2 separate regions of the Homo sapiens genome follow, and region 2 is linked to region 1. The links are contacts of gene promoters, found by promoter capture Hi-C in blood cells and fetal thymus (Javierre and others, 2016). All regions are on one chromosome and are shown on one strand. Each heading gives the region's core, a stretch centred on a gene start or on the middle of the fragment in contact. The rest is flanking DNA. Distances are from core to core; before and after follow the strand shown.

Region 1 (3,740 bases), core at 678-3,177:
ACCTCTACTAAAAAAATCCACAAATTAACCAGGCATGGTGGCATGCAACTGTGGTGGTTACAGGTACTCAGGAGGCTGAGGCCGGAGAATCCCTTGAGCCTGGGAAATGGAGGCTGCAGTGAGCTGAAACAGCACCATTGCACTCTAGCCTGTGCAACCAAGCCAGGATTAATAACTTTATTGATGTGAACCAATTATCCAAAAATAATAATCACATATTAGCCATAGCGGACTCCCCAGCTAGATGTTTTCTGCCTGTGTTTGTAAATCCTGGACATAGTTAAATTTCAAGTGCCTTCAATAAGAAATCAATGGCTTGGAAAACATCTCTGCGCAGTCTTGATAAGATTTCTAATTGTGGTGAAGCCTCATTCCTTAAATTATTTATTCAACACTAACCCATTCTACAAACTTACATCTGCTGGGCTCTGGGAGTAACAAGATGAGTTAGATGCAGCAGTCCCAAATCTAAAGGAGGTTGGAGACTAGAAAGACCAGTGCCTGCTCTGAGCTCTCCAGTGGTCCCCAGCCTCTCAGTCAGGCCTCACAGGCCCCTCTGCCAGAGGCGGAACCAGCTTGCCTCCGCTCTGCAGCCACACTGGCCTTTTCTTTCATTTCTGAGAACTCTCCTCACTCCCTCCCACTTTGGGCTCTGCAGAAATCCCAGTTCCCTTTGCCTTGAAAGCTCTTGGTCAATTTAGCTCCTCCTCCTTCAGCCCTCAGCTCCTGCCTTGCTGCCCCAATAATCTTTTTCTGACTGCAGATCTGGTCAAATCTTTGTCTGAAACCTTAGAGCCCATTACATTTGTAGTTTTACGTGTACACGTGTGATCATTTAATATTTGACGGTGTGCTCTCAGGTGCCTACGCTCCTGGAGAGGCAGGGGCTGACTGGTTTTGTTAGATGCCAGTGCCTGACACACAATAGGCCCTCAAGGGGTGAAAAACCAACCAACCAAGTCAGGACCCAAGCAACCTGGGCCTCTGTGGAAGGGCAGAATGGCCTGAGTTTGGGTTTCTCGAGCTACCTTAAGATCAGGCCTCCTGGCTCCTATCTTAGCCCTTCTAACACTCTGAAGTGTAGAGGTTGTTTGTTCCAAGTCCCCAAGGTACTGTAAGCTCCCAGATAGCAGAAATCCCATTATATTTTAGTGCTGTGGCCCCAGCATCCAGCTGCGCTGTTACTTAGCATGAGATCCACATGAAAACCATTTCGCAACTATTAGCCATTGCCAGTATTAATACTTTCCGGAAGGTGGCACAAAGTGGGGGATGTTATAGACAGCTTCAAAGAAACGTTTAAGCTAGAGTTGACTCTTTAAATAATACAAGCCATCCCCAACCAAAGATTAAAAATTTAAATACAAAAAAAAAAAAAGGAAATTTGCCTACCCCCCATTTGTGAAAACAAAGAAAAAAAAAACAGTTAACGTCTTAACTTTTCTAGGCCTTCACTCTCGCCTCTCCCCGCGCTACAAGGGCGAATTCTGGACGTATCTACACAGTCACCGCGGAGTCTGCAATCGCCGCGACGTCCCCTGGCATTTCTTGGCCAGGCTGCAACTTTGGTGACGGTGTATGTAGTTACATCCCCTGTAGTGCAGCTGGTATTTAGGGTCCTCATTGGCAAAGTTGAGGGTATAAGCAGGGAGGGAGGGGACCTTGGCTTCTTTCCATTCACTGGCATGTTTTCGGGGCACGGTCATCCCACGCTGGGCTCCAGCGCCAGTCCCAAGGCCTCGCCGAACTCCAGCCCGGGAGTGCGCGCGGCCCCGCCCACCGGGCGGCCGAGGTCCCGCCCCTACCTCCCCCGCCACACCTACCCACCCACCCCATTGCAATGGTCTCTGCACGCAGGCGCAGTGGCGCGCGGGGGAGGCGGGGCGCATGTGGGCTTCATTTAAACAGAGCAGAGGGGGCGGCGCGCGGTCGCCGCGGTGCTGCTGCTCAGTGGGAGCGGGTCTTCGCAACTGTCTCCGCGTGGCGCGCGCCTCTAGCCGCCCTTCCCCTGGCGGCTACGGCCGGAGGGAGCGGAGGCGAGCGGGAGTCGGGCTCCATGGAGAGCGGCGGACAACTGGGCAGAGGCGGAGCTTTCATCTCGGCACCCTGGTTCCAGTGACCCGCGCTAGCGTCCCGTCCCGCCCGCGTCGGAGCGGCCGCCGGCCCCGGGACTGACCGGCCTCGCCGCACCTCCCGCACCGACTAGCGCTCCCGGGCGCTCCTGCGCCCGACTCGCCCTCGCCCCCACTCCCCGGCGGGGTGGCGGCGGCCGGGCCCCCACGGCGGCGGCCGGAGCAGCAGCAGCAGCAGCAGGAGCCCGCCTCTATGATGAAGTTCAAGCCCAACCAGACGCGGACCTACGACCGCGAGGGCTTCAAGAAGCGGGCGGCGTGCCTGTGCTTCCGGAGCGAGCAGGAGGACGAGGTAGGGCGCCCGGCGCCGCACGCTGCCCTCCGGGGCGCCGGGGTCTAGGGCCCGGGTGCTTCCCCTCGCTCCCCGCCCCTGCGCAGGCTGCGGGGCTGGGAGGGATTAGCCCCCTTCCTCCCTCCCTCCTTTCCTCCCTCACTCCTTTCCTCCCTCACTTCTTCCTTCCTTTCTCTGGGCTGATAGATGAGACAAAGGGGGCTCGCCCAGCCCCAGTTTCTCCATCTGGGCACTCGAGAAGGCGCCTGGTCCCCGGGAAGGTCCCGGGCCGCGTAAGTCTCGCCTAGCGGGAGTCACCATCTTAACGTGCGAATTGAGTTGAAAGCCGGATAAACCTCGAGTGCTCAGCGAGAGGAGGGTGGAAATGGCGTGAGTGTTGCAGCAGAGCCCTTGTGCCTCTTTTACATATTTTCCTTCCATGTTACAGCCGTTTGCGGTCTCGGATTCGATCTAAGCATGTTTGTGGAGTAACAGACAGTCCTCGTGCTTGGAATTGAGTCTAGTCTTGGCAATTCTTGTGGGTCCATGAACCCGCAAGCTGTTGGCATAATTATGCCTCATTTTTAAAACGGCCTTCCCTTCTTAAAGTTTTCTGACTGCAGAAAAATGGTTAGTGAAAAATGTGGAATAATGCCAAAAGGGAGACGATGGACTAGAGATGGGCAAAGCTGCCATTTTCAGACAGTAATCTCCAGCTCTCAGCTTATGTATAAAGGGTTCTTTGCTGTCTGGCTTGACATCTGGAAAGGAGTAGCCTTTCTCGTTCTCAGAGCAGTCGTTCTTGGATAATTTACCCATCTGCATTGGGCTGAGAATGAGACCCTTGGGGTTTCCCTGGAGAGCGATTTTTACTTAATTCAGTAGTATTTATTTAAAATGGCTAACTGTTGAAGTTTGCTTAGGGCAATAGTAGCCTTTTGGTATTGCCACTCTTAAGATAAATTACATAGGTGAAAAAAATTAACATTCTGAGTTCTGCTTTCATAACCAACCGTGTATAAAATACTAGGCTAAGGCTGGAGATGGGAATTTAATGGCTTCCTTACTGCTAGTCCCTGTAGTTGTGATGAATATGACACAGAATACACTCAGTGGCTTAGTTCTTGTTATGTTAACGAAAAGTTCTCGAAATTTGCCCTTCAAACCCTTGTTTTGCCTTTATTTTTTTTTGAAAAGAAACCAAGCCCTTTAAATGGGTTGCTCTGTGCTCACTCATAACCTTTACGTATTAGACTTGAATCCCAAACGAGTGTGCAGAGAAATACGGCCCCAGCCTTTGAGATGGGTCTGCTTAGGAGAGCTAGAAACTGCAAAGG
Region 2 (3,740 bases), core at 383-2,882, 2.0 Mb before region 1:
AATGCATAATCTGTCATAAAATATTGCATTCATCAATTATTGGCCCCAGCTGCATTTATGAGCCTATAATCTTTTGCCATAAAACATGGATGTTGGGGAGAGGGGCTGTAGAGAGGAGTATCATATTCATTAACCAATACTACAGAAACTAAAAGTGGTAGTAGACCCTTTTTTTTCTATTGCATTCAGTTTATAATAGTTTCCTTTGACAATAATAATTATAATAATAAAAGAAAAAGAAAAATCCACCTAGGAATTGTATTCCTAAACAACGAAATCTCCAGATGACTACGGATATGTAGTTTTCAACATGCAATATCTGGAAAGAATGTGGGTTCTGTTTCTTTGCAGTAATTCTGTGTGTTTTATAGTCTTTGCTTTATCATCCTGGCCTAGAGCCAGTTAAAGAAATTCATCACCAAATGTGCAACAACCCATGAGAGGGAGTCCAGCATTGAGTTTGGAAATAGAATGAGGTGATTGTAGAGGAAGAGGCCGAGGCTGTCAGTGATGTATTTCCCTATCTCCCTGAGCCTGTCAGCTATTGAGTTGCTCAAGTCCCAGCCCTGACACCTAGCTGCCCCTGTGCCACCATCAGGATGCCCAGTGAGAGAAGAAGAGATGGGGAAATGGAAAGAAATCATCCTGTCCCACCTGCCCATGCAGTAAAGAAGACAAGGAAGAATTTGTAGAAGCCAGGGGTGGAGAGTCTTCCCCCAGAGGAGAGAGGCTCATTGGTCATAGGCCCTAGGGCAGTGGAACCACAGCCCTGGTCCTCAGATGAATGTGGGAGAAGGCAGGATGACTCCAGAGTTGAATATTAGATGTCAGGAGCCCGCAGAAGTGAGAGATGGCTACCAGGAGATGGGACCACAGCTGGGTTCGTTCCAAACATGACCAAAGATTCCCACCTGAGACTGGTACACAAGCACTTGAGAACTGCCAGATGTCAAGGGGATCTTCTGGATAGTGAAAAAATCAGAAGTGACCATGTTAGCCAGAACATCAGCTTCTTCCCTATTTTCATGAAGATTTAAGGCTCCCAGTCTCTGGTGCTATTTTGAAAAGGCTAGAGGAATTCTTGGCAATATGGTAGAATTGAGTCTTGGAGTTAAAACTACGTTAGATTAAGATAAATAATACAAAAGCCATTTCTAACATATCTGAGATTTGCATTATACAAAAGACCATAGTTTATATTTTCTAACAACTGTGTTATTTATCACTGCATTCGTTCCTCAGTACAATCCTATAATGGAATTAGGACAGGTGTCCTGATCCATTTATGCCTAGTGTTCCATTATTGGAACGCTAAGCATCTGGGAGTTATTTATATCCTGCTGCTCAAGGTCATCACCAAGATCTGATTGCAAAAATTCAAAAAATTGCAGCTTCAGGCACAAATGGGTTAATTAGCATTAACAAAGCAAGCCCTTCTGACTTTTATGTTATTCTTCACAAAACTCTCTGGGATTTGTCATTATTATATTAAGTAAACATTTTGAAGTTTTGTAAACACTAAGTTGAGGGACTTGGCAAAGATCATTCAGGCTCTGTCTTCTGTGCTGAAACAAAATTGATAATTGAGATACTTTTCTGAGTAATTTTATTATGAAATCCTCCTCTTATCAGAAATACCTGCATCATGTTTCATTGCTAATTTTGGAAACAGAACAACAGACCTTTGAGAGAGCACTGGCTTGGAAACTAGATTTTGAGATTAACTGTTATGTAAGGACTTAGGATTTTGCTAGTTACAGGTGCCAGGGAGAAATTGGTCATAGCTAGGAAGCTAAAAAATGGAAGCCAAGCTATATAAAAGACAAGATCCCGTAGCCATGCACTAGGTAAAGGGTATGGTCATGAGGACTGGAAGCCCAGTAATTCCAAAATTAGGTGGAAGTGATTTTACAAAAAAGTCTATAATTGTGACGGTATGGATAGACAAGAAATCAAGAATCCTGAGTAGCACAGCTAGAACTGGAAATGGTAAGTAGCAAATTTATAAAGTCTAGAAAGTTAGCAGCAAATCTTGGTTATGAATGGCCTAAGTCATATGAAATCCAGATCCTCACAAAGGGAACTGAAGCACCAAAATGGAGGAGGAGTCAATATTGAGGAAATAACTACTTCCTAGGAACCTAGTGTAGAAGTGCAAACAGCTGTGGATTCTCAGTTCTAGATCAGGAATCATAAGTGAGGGGCACTCCTACCATTGTCCTTTCATTCACATTTGTCAGCCACCAGGCATCACCAGTGAAACACAGCACCCTTTTCTGTGACATCTGGAAGCGGCCTTAATATCTTTCTCAATACAGTGACCCAAGAAACCACAGGAAATCAATTGGAATTACAGTTTTGGGTGTATATTAAGCAAACAACTTAATGTAGCCTATAGGAGAATTAGAGTCACAGTTCTATAGAGTAGGGTGACTATACGTCGCACATGTCCCAGAATGTTTTTTGTTTACATCTCTTGTTACAACATAATTAATAGCACCCCATTCACTCTCAAAGGTGTCCCAAGTATGGACTATAAATTATATTGTCCTTCTGTTTATGGGGAAAATAGTCAGACATCCAAGCCCTACTTCTGACTGACCATGTAATCTTAAGGCTATGTAAAACCACTGAATCAAGTTACTGAAGAAAACAGATACCCTGTATATTTGGTACCATGGAGATCACATTTGTTTTATGCATATGCATGATCTGTTTATGGATTATGGGTCTCAAATTCCCTTCTAAGAGAAATGAATACCTACATTCAAAACTAAAAGGGAGTGATCAGTGACATAAAAAATACTCAATGTGTTTTGTGATCCTTGAGATCAGAGGCTATGAAATGAAGTAAAGAATATTTTACTTAATATTGTTATATACATTGCAAGAAACATTACTTCAAGTTTGCTAATGTATTTGTTCTCTCAACAAACAATTACAGAATGCCTGTGATAAAAGAGCAAATGTGTGGGATAGGTACTGCCATTCCCAGTTTCCTACTCCCATAGCCGACATCGCTAATTGATCATGGAACTCTTTCCCTCTCAGAACAGGCTACACATCAGAATCCTTCTCCACAAGTCTTCTTGGCACCCACACCATTAAACAGAACTTATACTTGAGTTGAGCTCAAGTTTCTGTCCATCCCCAGCCCTGCCCTTCTGTCAGGTCCTGTACTAAATGGTAGAAGTACTGAAAAGCAATCAAATTATGATTGCTTTTGAGAGGCCTCTGGTCTACTGGAGGAGACAGACAAGCACATGCTTCATTGCAGGGATAGGACTAGGGGATGCTTGTGCACCAGGTGCCAGTATCATCGTTGTCTGCTGATGATGGACCTATATGCAAAACACTAGAAGGATTTTAGGTGAGCCTTTGTGCAGTCTAATGAAAGCTTGACAGATAAAAGATACTTACGTTGGAATTTGAAGAGCAGTTAAGGATCAGATCAAGAAGTAAGAGAGTCCAAAACAGAAGAAACAGCATACGCACAACCATTGTGAAATAAAGTGAGAGTAAAATCAGGTGGGGCATGGGAGTGGTGGCAGTGGGGGAGGCATGCTGGTGCAGAAAGGCTTGATTTTAGGGATTAATGTGAAATACAAATTAGAGGTATGTCCACATTGAAAGCAAATCAGTAGGAGTAAGACATTCACCAGTTATTTGCCTACGTGTAAAATTGTTTTGATGAAGTATTTTTTTAAAATTAATTAAGCTGTAAAGAATTCATTACATCA

What was found. The method cuts DNA at HindIII sites, captures the fragments that hold promoters and counts their contacts. A CHiCAGO score of 5 or more calls a contact.
Region 2: a contact is called between a fragment that was not itself captured here and the fragment with the promoter of NUDT4 in region 1, in 2 of 17 cell types (fetal thymus and non-activated CD4 T cells). The highest score is 6.8, in fetal thymus.

The regions. Positions count from the first base shown.
Region 1 is chr12:93,375,998-93,379,737 of GRCh38, forward strand. NUDT4 (nudix hydrolase 4) reads left to right here and starts at 1,928. Exons shown (of 5, transcript NM_019094.6): 1 at 1,928-2,424. The coding sequence starts at 2,326. LOC643339 (a long non-coding RNA gene) reads right to left here and starts at 1,739. Exons shown (of 5, transcript NR_040096.1): 1 at 1,440-1,739. RefSeq lists an enhancer at 1,524-2,463 and silencers at 1,700-2,039, 2,260-2,559. The HindIII fragment of the contact is 6,665 bases long and covers 1-3,740 here.
Region 2 is chr12:91,382,895-91,386,634 of GRCh38, forward strand. The region is part of intron 4 of LOC105369896 (a long non-coding RNA gene); the gene reads right to left. Among named protein-coding and RNA genes, the nearest start is that of LINC02823, 58 kb to the left of the region's middle. The HindIII fragment of the contact is 3,526 bases long and covers 1-3,395 here.